Regions from separate parts of the Homo sapiens genome. Here regions 1, 2 and 3 are each linked to region 4. The links are contacts of gene promoters, found by promoter capture Hi-C in human tissues and cell types (Jung and others, 2019). All regions are on one chromosome and are shown on one strand. Each heading gives the region's core, a stretch centred on a gene start or on the middle of the fragment in contact. The rest is flanking DNA. Distances are from core to core; before and after follow the strand shown.

What was found. Contacts are between HindIII fragments. The study calls those that stand out against the background at their distance.
Region 1: a contact is called between a fragment that was not itself captured here and the fragment with the promoter of ATP8B3 in region 4, in 1 of the 25 tissues and cell types used here (spleen).
Region 2: a contact is called between the fragment with the promoter of RPS15 here and the fragment with the promoter of ATP8B3 in region 4, in 3 of the 25 tissues and cell types used here (aorta, dorsolateral prefrontal cortex and lymphoblastoid cells).
Region 3: the fragment with the promoter of DAZAP1 here is called in contact with the fragment with the promoter of ATP8B3 in region 4 in 1 of the 25 tissues and cell types used here (lymphoblastoid cells).

The regions. Positions count from the first base shown.
Region 1 is chr19:2,276,917-2,280,107 of GRCh38, reverse strand. PEAK3 (PEAK family member 3) reads left to right here. Exons shown (of 4, transcript NM_198532.3): 3 at 995-1,524. Among named protein-coding and RNA genes, the nearest start is that of PEAK3, 3.7 kb to the left of the region's middle. The HindIII fragment of the contact is 7,382 bases long and covers 1-3,191 here.
Region 2 is chr19:1,436,571-1,439,645 of GRCh38, reverse strand. It overlaps RPS15 (ribosomal protein S15), which reads right to left and starts at 1,250. Exons shown (of 4, transcript NM_001018.5): 1 at 1,218-1,250; 2 at 754-839. The coding sequence starts at 1,220. RefSeq lists enhancers at 1,007-1,226, 635-1,505. The HindIII fragment of the contact is 20,902 bases long and covers 1-3,075 here.
Region 3 is chr19:1,405,939-1,409,154 of GRCh38, reverse strand. It overlaps DAZAP1 (DAZ associated protein 1), which reads right to left and starts at 1,569. Exons shown (of 12, transcript NM_018959.4): 1 at 1,353-1,569. The coding sequence starts at 1,381. RefSeq lists silencers at 666-765, 1,146-1,355, 1,496-1,725. The HindIII fragment of the contact is 8,178 bases long and covers 1-3,216 here.
Region 4 is chr19:1,810,987-1,813,863 of GRCh38, reverse strand. It overlaps ATP8B3 (ATPase phospholipid transporting 8B3), which reads left to right and starts at 1,588. Exons shown (of 29, transcript NM_138813.4): 1 at 1,588-1,678; 2 at 1,980-2,375. The coding sequence starts at 2,128. RefSeq lists enhancers at 795-954, 1,335-2,080 and a silencer at 1,505-1,874. The HindIII fragment of the contact is 30,703 bases long and covers 1-2,877 here.

The sequences.
Region 1 (3,191 bases), core at 594-3,093, 470 kb before region 4:
CTGGGCGACAGAGGGAGACTCCATCTCAAAAAAAAAAAAAAAAAAAAAAAAAAAGGCCAGGTGCAATGGTTCAAGCCTGTAATCCCAGCACTTTGGGAGGCCGAGTCAGGCAGATCACCTGAGGTCAGGAGTTTGAAACCAGCCTGGCTAACATGGTGAAACCCCATCTCTACTAAAAATACAAAAATTAGCTGGGCATAGTGGCGGGCGGGCACCTGTAGTCCCAGCTACTTGGGAGGCTGAGGTAGGAGAATCGCTTGAACCTAGGAGGCGGAGGTTGCAGTGAGCCGAGATCGTGCCACTGCACTCCAGGCTGGGCGACAGAGCAAGACTTCAAAAAAGAAAAAAAGCAAGACAGACGCTTGTGCAAAGCCACGGAGGTAAGTGGGAGTCGCTGAGTGCTGGGTGGCATCACTCTCTGAAACTGATCCATCCTCCTATAAGCCTCAGTTTCCCCTTCTGTAAGCTCTGCCGCCCAGGCTGGAGTGCAGTGGCACAATCTCGGTTCACTGCAAGCTCCACTTCTCAAGTTCACACAATTTTCCTGCCTCAGCCTCCCGAGTAGCTGGGACCACAGGCGCCCACCACCAAGCCCGGCTAATTTTTTGTATTTTTAGTAAAGACGGGGTTTCACCGTGTTAGCCAGGATGGTCTCGATCTCCTGACCTCGTGATCCACCCATCTCGGCCTCCCAAAGTGCTGGAATTACAGGCATGAGCCATTGTGCATGGCCGCGTCCGGCAAATTTTTAAAAAATTTTTGCAGAGACAGGGTCTCACTATGTTGCCCAGGCTGGTCTCAAACCCTAGGTTCCAGTGATCCTCCTGCCTCGGCTTCCACCTTCCTAAGTGCTGGGATTACAAGCATGAGCCACCGGCGCCCAGCCTCATTACTTCCATGTTAGAGATGGGGAAACCGAGGCTGAGAGGTGGAGTCACGTGTCCCGTTCCCACTCCGCCTGTCCTCAACCCTCCCCCACTGTCTCTCCCTGCAGGTCAGATCCGTGCCCACCTGCTGCCCTCCAAGGCCTGCCGCCTCCGGACCCCTGGGTCCCTCTCCACCAACCCAGAGCCCCTGCCCCCACCCCTGCCCAAGAAGATCCTAACCCGGACCCAGTCACTGCCCACCCGCAGGACCCTCCATCCCAGCTCCATCCAAGTACAGCCGCCTCGGAGACCCTTTCTGGGGTCCCACAGTGTGGACAAGAGCCAGGCTGCAGTGGGACCAGCCTGTCTCCCTGCAGAGCTGACCTTTGGCCCGGCTGACGCCCCACTGGGCCTCTCCCTCCGCGATCTGCACAGCCCGGAGGCTGTGCACACTGCACTGGCTGCGCGGCAGCTGCAGGGCCTCCGTACCATCTATGCCCGGCTCCGTGCCCGGCTCATGGGGGGCCACCCCGGGCCCTGCCACCCCGGCCACAGCTTCCGCCTCCTAGACAGCTCACCCTGCGCAGAGAGCGGGGACGCCCTGTATTACCGCGTGGTGCGCGCGCACGAGGACGCCTGGCACATCCTGGTCGCCAAGGTGAGCCCCACAGCCCCACCCTCTCTGAGGTGTCCCCAGTGCCCCATCTTAGACATAACCCAGGGCTTGTTTCATTTGGCCTTTCTGTGAGTCAGTTCTCACACTGCTGTAAAGAAATACTGGAGCCGGGCGCGGTGGCTCACGCCTGTCATCCCAGCACTTTGGGAGGCCAAGGCGGGCGGATCAGCTGAGGTCAGGAGTTCAAGACCAGCCTGGCCAACATGGTGAAACCCAGCCTCTACTAAAAATACAAAAATTAGGTGTGGTGGCGGGCGCCTGTAAACCCAGCTACTTGGGAGACTGAGGCAGGAGAATTGCTTGAACCCGGGAGGCAGAGGTTGCAGTAAGCCAAGATTGGGCCATTGCACTCCAGCCTGGGCAACAGAGTGAGACTCCGTCTCAAAAAAAAAAAAAAGAAAAAGGCCGGGCACAGTGGCTCACACCTGTAATCCCAGCACTTTGGGAGGCCGAGGCGGGCAGATCACGAGGTCAGGAGATACAGACCATCCTGGCTAACACGGTGAAACCCTGTTTCTACTAAAAAGACAAAAAATTAGCCGGGCGTGGTGGTGGGCACCTGTAGTCCCAGCTATTTGGGAGGCTGAAGCAGGAGAATGGCATGAACCCAGGGGGCAGAGCTTGCGGTGAGCCGAGAACGCACCACTGCGCTCCAGCCTGGGCGACAGAGCGAGACTCCGTCTAAAAAAAAAAAAAAAGGCTGGGCAGCACAGTGGCTGACGCCTGTAATCTCAGCACTTTGGAAGGCCAAGGCGGGCAGATCATGAGGTCAGGAGTTCGAGACCAGCCTGGCCAACATAGTGAAACCCCCATCTCTACTAAAAATACAAAAATTAGCCGGGCGCGGTGGTGCGCACCTGAAGTCCCAGCTACTTGGAGGCTAAGGCAGGAGAATCACTTGAACCTGGGAGGCGGAGGTTGCAGTGAGCTGAGATTCGAAAATTGGGCTATTGCACTCCAGCCTGGGCGACAGAGTGAGACTCTGTCTCAAAAAAGAAAAACAAAAGAGAAGAAAAAAGAAAAGAAAAGAAAAAGGAATACTGGAGACTGGGTAATTTATAGAGAAAAGGGCCTTAATTGGCTCATGGTTCTGGTGGCTTCTGCTTCTGGGGAGGCCTCAGGAAGCTTCCAATCATAGTGGAAGGCGAGGCGGGAGCAGGCATCTCACACGGTGGGAGCAGGAGGAAGGGAGGGAGGAGGTGCTACTCACCTTTACACAGCCAGATCTCACGAGAACTCACTCGTTATCCCAACGACAGTGCCAAGGGAGATGGTGCTGAGCCATTCATGATAAACCACCCCCAAGATCCAAGTCGCCTCCCACCAGACCCCACCTCCAACACTGGGGAATGAGATTTGGTGGGGACACAGATCCAGACCATATTAGACTTGTTTATTTTGCAACTAACACGTGAATCAACGCAGTTAACCCAGGAAACCATGTTTCTAAAGTATGGGGCCATGGGTATGGCCTTGGAGCTCTTGTCAAAACCCCTCCCACACCTCTCTGGCCGGGGATCTGCTTTTGTGTTTTTTGTTTTGTTTTTTGTTTTTGAGACAGAGTCTCACTCTGTTGCCCAGGCTGGAGTGCAGTGGCGCGTTCTCGGCTCACTGCAACCTCCACCTCCCGGGCTCAAGCGATTCTCTCA
Region 2 (3,075 bases), core at 1-2,500, 370 kb after region 4:
AGGCGGGAGGGTCGCTTGAGCCCAGGAGTTCAAGACCAACCTGGACGACACAGAGAAACGCTGTTTCCACAAATAATCAAAAATCAAGGTCGGGCGCGGTGTTCACGCCTGTAATCCCAGCACTTTGGGAGGCCGAGGCAGGTGGATCACCTGAGGTCAGGAGTTTGAGACCAGCCTGGGCAACACTGAAACTCGTCTCTACTAAAAATACAAAAATTAGCCGGACGTGGTGGGGGGGCCCTCTAATCCCAGCTACTCGAGAGGCTGAGGCAAGAGAATCGCTTGAACCCGGGAGTGGGAGGCTGCAGTGAGCTGGGACGGAGCCATTGCACTCCAGCCTGGGCGACAGGATGAGACTCCGCCTCAAAATAATCAAAAATTAAAAAATAAAAGCGCAAGCCAGATGCCCACCACCACCCTGCCTGGAAAGGACCCAGCGACCTCCACCGCCCTTAAAATCTAAGGAGTCTAACGCAGCCCCTTATTCTAAGTCACGTGGGCTACAGACAGGGGCTACACCTTCCAACTAAGCCGCGGAAAAGTGAACAACGGGGGGCAGGTTGCAAATAAGCAAAAACCTCAACGTCTCTGGACAGTTTTCTGGGCGCAAGACCACACTCAGTTCCAAACCCGCGCGGAGACCGTGCCCGCCCACCGCCGCAGAGGCGCTTGGACCCCCGCCCCGCCGCCCTCACCCGGACAAGCCCCACCGCTGGCCCAGCCCCTGCCCGCGACCCCCGCGGCCGCCCTTACTAGGACATGTCCAGCAGCTGGTCGAGGTCCACGCCGCGGTAGGTGAACTTGCGGAAGGTCCGCTTCTTCTTCTGCTCTACTTCTGCCTGTGCGGGCGCGGATCGGGCGTCAGCGGGATCCCGACACCCATCTCCCGGGGCCACCGGGCCCGAGGACACCGCGGAAGACGCGCGGCGCCGCCGGGGACAGAAGCCCGACAGGGACACACCGCTTCGACCCGTCCCCGGGGATCACTCGCGGCTCCGGGTTACGAGGACCCGGACATGAAGGCCCGGACAGGCCTTCCCAGCCCCGCGTCGTCCCGACACCCACCAAGTCCGCCCCTCGCCCCAACATCCAGCCGCCTGCAGGGTCGGGAGCAAGCCGCCGTAGCCGCGGGGACGAACTGCGGCCCCCGCGAGACGGTCAGAGGTTGGATGGAGCCGGATAGGCCCGGCAGAGACGCGCCAAATCGCAACACTCACCATCTTGCCGGATCCTCAGAAGAGATCGCTTTGGTCCGCGCCTGCGCAGTTATCGCGAGACTGCCGGCATGTCCCGCCCCCTCGGCCGTGCGCGCACACGCGCTTCCGCTTTCCCGGCGGCGAACACGCGCCCTCTGCCGTCTGGAGGGCAAAACACAGGCTGCAGGGATTAGAGCAGCCGCCGCCTGAGGTCTGCAGAGCCGCTTCCTCCACGGAGTGGGACTTTGGACAAGTCGCCGCCCCTGTCTGAGCCTCGGGTTCGTGCTCCGTCATCTACACGATGGCACCCACATCAACAAGTATTTATGGAGCGCCTACCGTTTGCTCGTAGGTGCGGTTTGGCGGTTCAGGTCCCACTGTGGGAGGAACACGAGAATTCATTACAGATACTGGAGCAGGGACAGGGCCTCGCTGAAAAGAACCATTCCGGCTTTAACAGATAAAATTTTGTATATAAAGTTAGTAAGGACAACACAGTGAGACTGCCTCTCTACAAAAAAATACAAAAATTTGTGTACACACGGACATAAAAGAATAAAAAGTACAAAAAATTCCCAGCTACTCGGGAGGCTGAGCCTTCAGCCCAGGAGGTCAAGGCTGCAGTGAGCCGTGATCGCGCCAACGGCACTCCAGCCTGGGCGACAGAGCAAGACCCTGCCTCAAAAATAAAGTTAGGAATATCACTGGGTTTGTTAAGATATGTAAATGTAATGTGAATAATGATAGCTCAAAGAGAAGGAGTAACTAGAACTATGTAGGAGTGACTTTTTTTTTTTTTTGAGACAGAGTTTCACTCTTGTTGCCCTGGCTGGAGTGCAGTGGTGTGATCTCGGCTCACTGCAACCTCTGCCTCCTGGGTTCAAGCGATTCTCCTGCCTCAGCCTCCCAAGTAGCTGGGATTACAGGCACCTGTTACCGTGCCCGGCTAATTTTGTATTTTTAGTAAAGACACGGTTTCTCCATGTTGGCCAGGCCATGTTGGTCTCGAACTCCTGACCTCAGGTGATCCACCCGCTTTGGCCTCCCAAAGTGCTGGGATTACAGGCGTGAGCCACCGCGCCTGGCCTAGGAGTGATGTTTCTGTATCTTACTGGAATTAAGTATAAAGTTGAAGGTGACTATTAACTATGGATGTGGCACCTGGCTGGGCGTGGTGGCTTATGCTTGTAATTCCAGCACTTTGGGAGGCCGAGGCGGGCGGATCACCTGAGGTCAAGAGTTCAAGACCAAGCTGACCAACCCTAACTCTACTAAAAATACAAAAAATTAGCCAGGCGTGGTGGTGGGTGCCTGTAATCCCAGCTCCTTGGGAGGCTGAGGCAGGAGAACCGCTTGAACCCGGGAGGCGGAGGTTGCAGTGAGCTGAGATCGCACCACTGCACTCCAGCCTGGGCGACAGAGACTCCTTCTCAAAAAAAAAAAAAAAAAAAAAAAAGAAAAAGAAAAAAAAAAAGCACAAAACCTCTGGGAACCCGAGCTTAGCTGTGGCACTGTCCAGGGAGCTGAGCTCTCCCCAGCCGTCCCCACAGTCCCAAGGGAAGCCAATTACACTGTACTCAGGGAGGGCTGAGTCTCCGTCCCGAGGAGCACAGGACCTATGTGTCGGGCCCGTCCATGTTACCCATTTTCCTGCAGCAGAGTGTCCTGGCTGGAAAGCTGATTTTGTGAGTGCTGCTCTTTGGCTGGGGGAGCTAATGTAACGGGAGGGGCTGACACTCAACACCATGATGACCTGTGGTGTGGATAGACAGCCGCCCCCGCCTGGCCCTCCTGGGAGCTGGGGCAGCAGCTCCTGAGGACATGGGAGAAGGCTCTGACGGCAGGGAATGGAGCTGGCTTCCTGGGCTGAGGCGTTGAG
Region 3 (3,216 bases), core at 320-2,819, 400 kb after region 4:
GAGGACTCACAGCACGGGCTAGGCAGGGGCTAAGTGCTTTCATCCTGGTTCTCCAACGGAAGGTGCTCTTTTGTTTTGTCTGGGGAGGGGGAGAGCCCACAAAAGGCATTTCCCATCCACAAGTGTGACCTGTAGCTGGTGCGAGAGGCGCCTGCCAAGGCAACCCTCTAGCAGCAACCGCTCCCGCACTAGCCAAGCCCAGCGCTGAGAACACAGGGCGCTGCTCAAAGCTAAGGGCACCGAGAAATTTACACCAGACCACTAGGAAACCCAACCCAGACTGTTTTGCCGGAAGAATGCAACTCTAAAACGACGTCGCTGCGGCAGGAGCCGCTCCTACCAAAGAATGGCGCCGAGCCCTGGGGCACAGCGAAATGAGGTTTCCCGGCCCCGCGGGGTCCGGAGCAGGTCAGGCTCCTATAGGAGGGGACGCCTCGGCGCAGCAAAGATCCGCGGGCCCGTCGCCGCCTCGGAAGCGCTGACTCTCCCTTCCGCAGCTCAAGCCCACCCCCGGCGGGGAGGCGCCGAGGCAACGTAAACACAGCAGGCCCCGGCTGACCCGAGCCCCCTGGGCCCTGGGTTTGCGAACCCCTCCCGACCTTACCACTTTGGGGGGGTGGGATGGGAGCGGGGAGCCCGGAGCCCCGAGTGGGATAGGTTGGGCGGTGGCAGAACCGGAACCCTCGCCTCGGCTCGCCACGTGCGCCGCCCGCCAAGTTTGGGCGCGCGCTGGGGGCGCCCCGGACCACCCCCCACGCCACAGTTTGGGGTCCCCCTGGCCAGGAAGCCGGGAGGCGGCGGCGACGGCGCCCTGGACTCCCCGCAGACTCCCTCAGGTTCTCATTCGGGGTCCCCCAGGCCAGGAAGCCCTACAGGCGGCAACGGGGACGCTCCAGACCCCCCCAAGTTCCCGTTCGGGGCCGCCACAACCAGGAAGCGGCGGCGGGGGCCCCTGAACCCCTCTGGCTCCCATTCGGGGTCCCTCAGGACGCGCAGTCGGGAAGCGGCGGCACGGGCGCCCCAGGACACCCCCCCAGGTTGCCGTTCGGGGTTCCCCCGACCAGGAAGTCTGGAGGCGGCGGCGGGGCCCCCCGGACCCCTCAGGCTCTCCTTCAGGATCCCCCAGGACGGGAAGCCGGGAAGCGGCGGCGGGGGCGCCAGGACCCCCCCAGACCCCGGGCACCCGTCCAGGGCCCCCGGCGCGAAGCCGCGGCGAGTCCGGGTCCCGAGTCCGCCCCCGGCCGGCGTGACCTTGACGGGGCGGCCCCGGGGGGCGGCGTCTGAGGCCGGGCGGCGGGGAGCGGCGGGCCGGGCTCGGGGCGGAGACGCAGGCCCGCGCCGCTCGTCCTCACCCGATCTCGTCGGCGCCCGAGTTGTTCATGGCGGCGGCGGCGGCGACGCTCGGCGCTCCCGGGCCTCCTCGCTCGCTCCCGCCTCCGGAAGGTCACCCGCTCCGTCGCCCTCCCCACAGCCGCGGCCCGGATCTGCGCAACGGCGGCGGCGGCGGCGGCGGCGGCGGCGGCGGCGGCGGCGGCTGCCTCCTCCCCTCGGCGCCAACGGTCACCGCGCGTCCCCGCGCCGCCGCGCCGCCGCCCCTGCGCACGCCCGGGCGCGCTCCCGCACGGGGTCTCCGGGGGCGGGTCCAGGGGTACTCCGTCTGTGCGTGCGTCCCTGAGGCGGATTTCGCGCCGCCGCAGTCGGGGCCGTCGCGCGTTTTCCTTTCTCCTCGGAGGCTCCTGGCGTTGCCGCGGGGCACGCTGGGAAATGGAGTCCCTGCGCTGGCCCCGCCCCTGCAAGGGGAGGATGCGCGCGGGCCGAGCCACGTGCGTGCGTGCGCGCGCGTGCGGGCTTGCGTGCGCGTGCGCGCTTGCGAGACCGGCGCTCCGGGCTAGGCACTGTGGGCGCAGGCGCGGCTGCCGCTTCCTCTTTAACTCTTCACTCGGAAGCGGTGGAGCCGCGTGGGGCGCTGCGGGGAGTGGGAGTGTACCCGCCCGCACCCCAGGCGGGCGGACGGAGCGGGAACGGCACGTGAGCGTCCCGCGCGAGGCTCCTTCCCCTGTCCGCATTTCACAGAAGAGGATCCCGAGGGTCCGAGAGGCTGAGTCACTTGGCCAAGGTCACCCAGTTCGGGGCTGAACTGGAATCAAATCAAAACAATTAACTAAATTCAATGACTATGAAAAGATATTATTGACCCCCCCCCCAAGTGCTATTACTATTAATAGCCAAATACTGTTTTAGTTGCATCTGTTAATTGCATACATCAGTGGTTCTTCTTCTGGGTGACTTTGCCCCCTAGGGGATAACTTGGCAATGTCTGAAAACACGGTTTTGGTTGTCACAACTTGAGTGCGGGGTGCTGCTGGCATCGAGTGGGTCCAGACCAGACATGCCGCTCAGCACCCTGCAGTGCACACGACGACCCCCCAAAAAGAATGATACCCGTCCTCCAATGTCAGCAGAAGGAGGTGGAAAAACCGGTCTAGGCTGACGGTAGTAAACAGGTGACCCGCAGGGTTTTGTAAAACCGGGTACGTGCTGCCTACTGCTTTTCTCCTTAATCTCACAGCACATTGACAGCCTGATCGTTTGGTTTATTCATCATCACAGAATTAAATAAATACAAGGAACAAGGCCGGGTGAGGTGGCGCACGCCTATAATCCCAACACTTTGGGAGGCCGAGGATCAATTTAGGTCAGGAGATCGAGACCAGCCTAGCCAACATATATAGTGAAACCCCGTCTCTACTAAAAATACAAAAGAAAATTAGCCGGGCGTGGTGGTGGGCGCCTGTAATCCCAGCTACTCGGGAAGCTAAGGCCGGAGAAATGCTTGAAGGCAGGAAGTAGAGGTTGCAGTGAGCCGAGATCGCGCCACTGCACACCAACCTGGGCAACAGAGCAAGACTCCCTCTTAGAAAAAAAAGGGCCGAGCATGGTGGCTCACTCCTGGAATCCCAGCAGTTTGGGAGGCCAAGGTGGGCGGATCACGAGGTCAGGAGATCGAGACCATCCTGGCTAACATGGTGAAACCCCGTCTCTACTAAAAGTACAAAAAATTAGCTCGGCATGGTGGCAGGCGCCTGTAGTCCCAGCTACTCAGGAGGCTGAGGCAGTAGAATTGCTTGAACCCAGGAGGCAGAGCTTGCAGTGAGCCGAGATCGTGCCACTACACTCCAGCCTGGGCGACACGGCAAGACTCTGTCTCAAAAAAAA
Region 4 (2,877 bases), core at 339-2,838:
TCACAGCTGCACCCAACCAGGTCTCTTCTAAAGTTTATTAGAACAGTGTGTTCAAACTCCCAGCCCCGGCTTTTTTTCGTAACCACTGAGCAAGCAAGCAAGCACAGGGGAAGTGTTGAAGGAATGAAAGGAGAGAAGTCAAACACAGTGGCCTGCCTGCCTGCTTGTGGTCCCAGCTACTCTGGAGGCTGAGGCAGGAGGATCGCTTGAGCCCAGGAGGTGGAGGCTGCAGTGAGCTCTGATCGCACCACTGCACTCCAGCCCGGGTGACACAGTGAGACTCTGTCTCCAAAAAAAGAGAGGTTCCCTGGCAGCCTCCAGGGCCAAGCAGGCTTCCAATTTGGGCTTCCAAAGAAAGAGGGTTTGTGATCACCGAGAGCCCTCAGGTGGTTGCCGCTTTGATGGGGGAGGTGGCTTCCCTATCCCCCTCCACCCATGTTTGCCTCTCCCTTTGGGCCCTCACCCCAGGTAGCCTCACTCTTGGGGGCATTTCATCTTCAGCAGCCCCTCCGCACACACTTTCTGACCCTGGCTCCAGGCCCTATCGCTGGCCTGGACCCGCCCTAGCCTCGTCGCTGAACTCACCCCTGCCACTTCTTCAGTAAGGATCCCTGAGCCCCTGCCACCTGCTGGAAAGAACCCTGCGGGCTTCCTCTTGGCCTTAGGGTGGTCTCAATGGCTATAACCGCCTCTCCCCAGCCTGGTGCTCAGCCCTGCATCTGCGCCTAGGAGGCGCTCGTTGAACGTGTATGGGATGAATGAACGAACCCAGGACACGGATCAGACATGACTTACATAACCGCCGTTACCTGTGGTCCTTCCTCCTGCACTCTGCCACGCTGGCCGCACCAGCCTCAGCCCCGTCAGGTCTGCAAGGCCCATTCCGACCTGACCCAGGCCCACCTTTCCAAGAACCCTTCCAACCCCGCCCTGCGGTGCAGGTTCTTTCTGCTCCCTGACCAAGCCCGGCCCGGCCCTGCCCTGACACCCTCTTCCCTTTCAGGCTCCGCCCCTGCACTGGCACTGCTCCCTAAGGCCCTCCCAAGGCCCTGCCTTCTGTCCTGGACCCACCCTGAGCGCCCTCCTACCCTGACCCTGCTCTGCGCGGCCCCGCCTTCCTCCTTTGTAACGGCTCCGGATCCCAGCCCCGCCCCTACCATAACACTGCTCCGCAAGGCCATGCTCAACCCCGCTTCCCGCTCTGGCCAAGCCCCTGAGTCCTGGCCCCGCCCCTACTCTGACTTTGCTCAGCGAGACCCCGCTCGTCCTCGCCTTCCTTCTAGTCCCTTCCCCAAAGTCCCGGCCCCTCCCCAGACCCAGGCACTGCTCCCGAGCGTCTTCTATCCCGGCCTGTTCTGCGAGGCTCTGCGAGGCCCCGCCCTTCGGCCGTGACCGCGTCCCTGAGGCCTGGCCCCCATCCTGCTCGGCCGTGCTCCGCTCGGCCCCACCCTCGAGGCCCCGCCCCTTCTTCGCCTTGGCCCCACCCACCCCCTCCAGGCCCCGCCCCCGGCCCCCTTCCGGGGTCCGAACTGGCTCCACCTTCGCCTTGGCCGGGCCCCGAGGCCCCGCCCCGAGATCCCGCCCCCCGTTTCAGGACCGTTGGCACCGGGCTAACGGTTCCACCACGTCCGCCGCCCTGGACGCCCGCGGCCTGCCCCCCCCTGCCTCTCCTGCGCCGGTGAGCGGCGGGTGCTCCCACTGCTGTGCGTCCCCGGGAGCCCGCGCACCCTCTCTGGGCTCCACCCAGGCTGAGAGCTGGGGTCGTGGCGGCGGGGGTGGAGAGCGCGCCCCTAGAGGTTCGCGCGGTCGGGGCCCCGGGGCGGGTGCAGACAGCCCTGGACTCTGGAGCCCTGTCCAGGGCGGTCCTGTGCCCCTGCGGCTGCGGGAAGACGGGGTGGGGGGCTTCCGAGTAATGGGGCATCCCAGTTAGTGAGGGGGCAGGAAGCCAGCGCTGTGTCCGTGTCTCTTTCTGCCCCCAGATACACTTCGAGTGGATTCTGGCCATTTGAGCATTCTCTCCAACTCTCCAATCCCCAGTCTGCCCCCACGGGGGTCTCCCCCACCTCTCCCCCGTCCCACAGCCTAAACCCCTCTTCGCCCTGAACCTCCCTTTTCCTCATGCGGTGAATGGGCACTGGCCCCGCTCAGACTCCCAGGAGCACCAGAGCTGGCCCTGAGCCAAGCCCTGCCCCACCAGGACCTGGGGACACGGGTGACTCAGACGTGACTCAGGAAGGCTCAGGTCCTGCTGGCATCCGCGGAGGTGAGACGGTGATCAGAGCTGGGATGGGAGACTCCCCAGGCAGAGGGGCACCTGAGAGGAGGCACAAGGCCCAGCCTGGCCGGGCTAGGAAGTATGAATGGAGACCAGAAGGGTGAGGACGGGTGCATCGGGTGGCCGGAACACAGGGGCAGGGGCTTGGCGGGGAGGGCACTGCTAGAGAGCTGGCAGGTGGGGGGCCAGTTGCTGGCGTCTAGGGGTGGTTTGCCCATCCTCATAGGGGGCCAAACCAGGGCCCCCGGTGCAGGGCTAGAGCCAGACCCACATTCCTGAACCTGCTAGTGGAGAAGATTCCAGGATCTTCTGACGATGTCCGTCTGCCTCCATCGCCCCCATCAGAGTTTGCTGCCCAGCCTGGGGGGGTGAGGAGGGGAGTGGCCATGCCTGACCCTCATGCTGTGTTTTGAGATATAACATATAGCCCGGGGGTCCCATTCAGTCAGTGAACAGATGACTGAGCCCCTAAGCTGGTGCCACATGGGGAGAGGGGCAGGAGGCCGTCAGTGAAACCAGGAGGAGGTGAGAGTGGTCCTTTCAGGAAAAGCGAGGTGTGGGGAGCAGTGGCCGGAGGCTGGCATGGCCAGAGGCTGGCATGG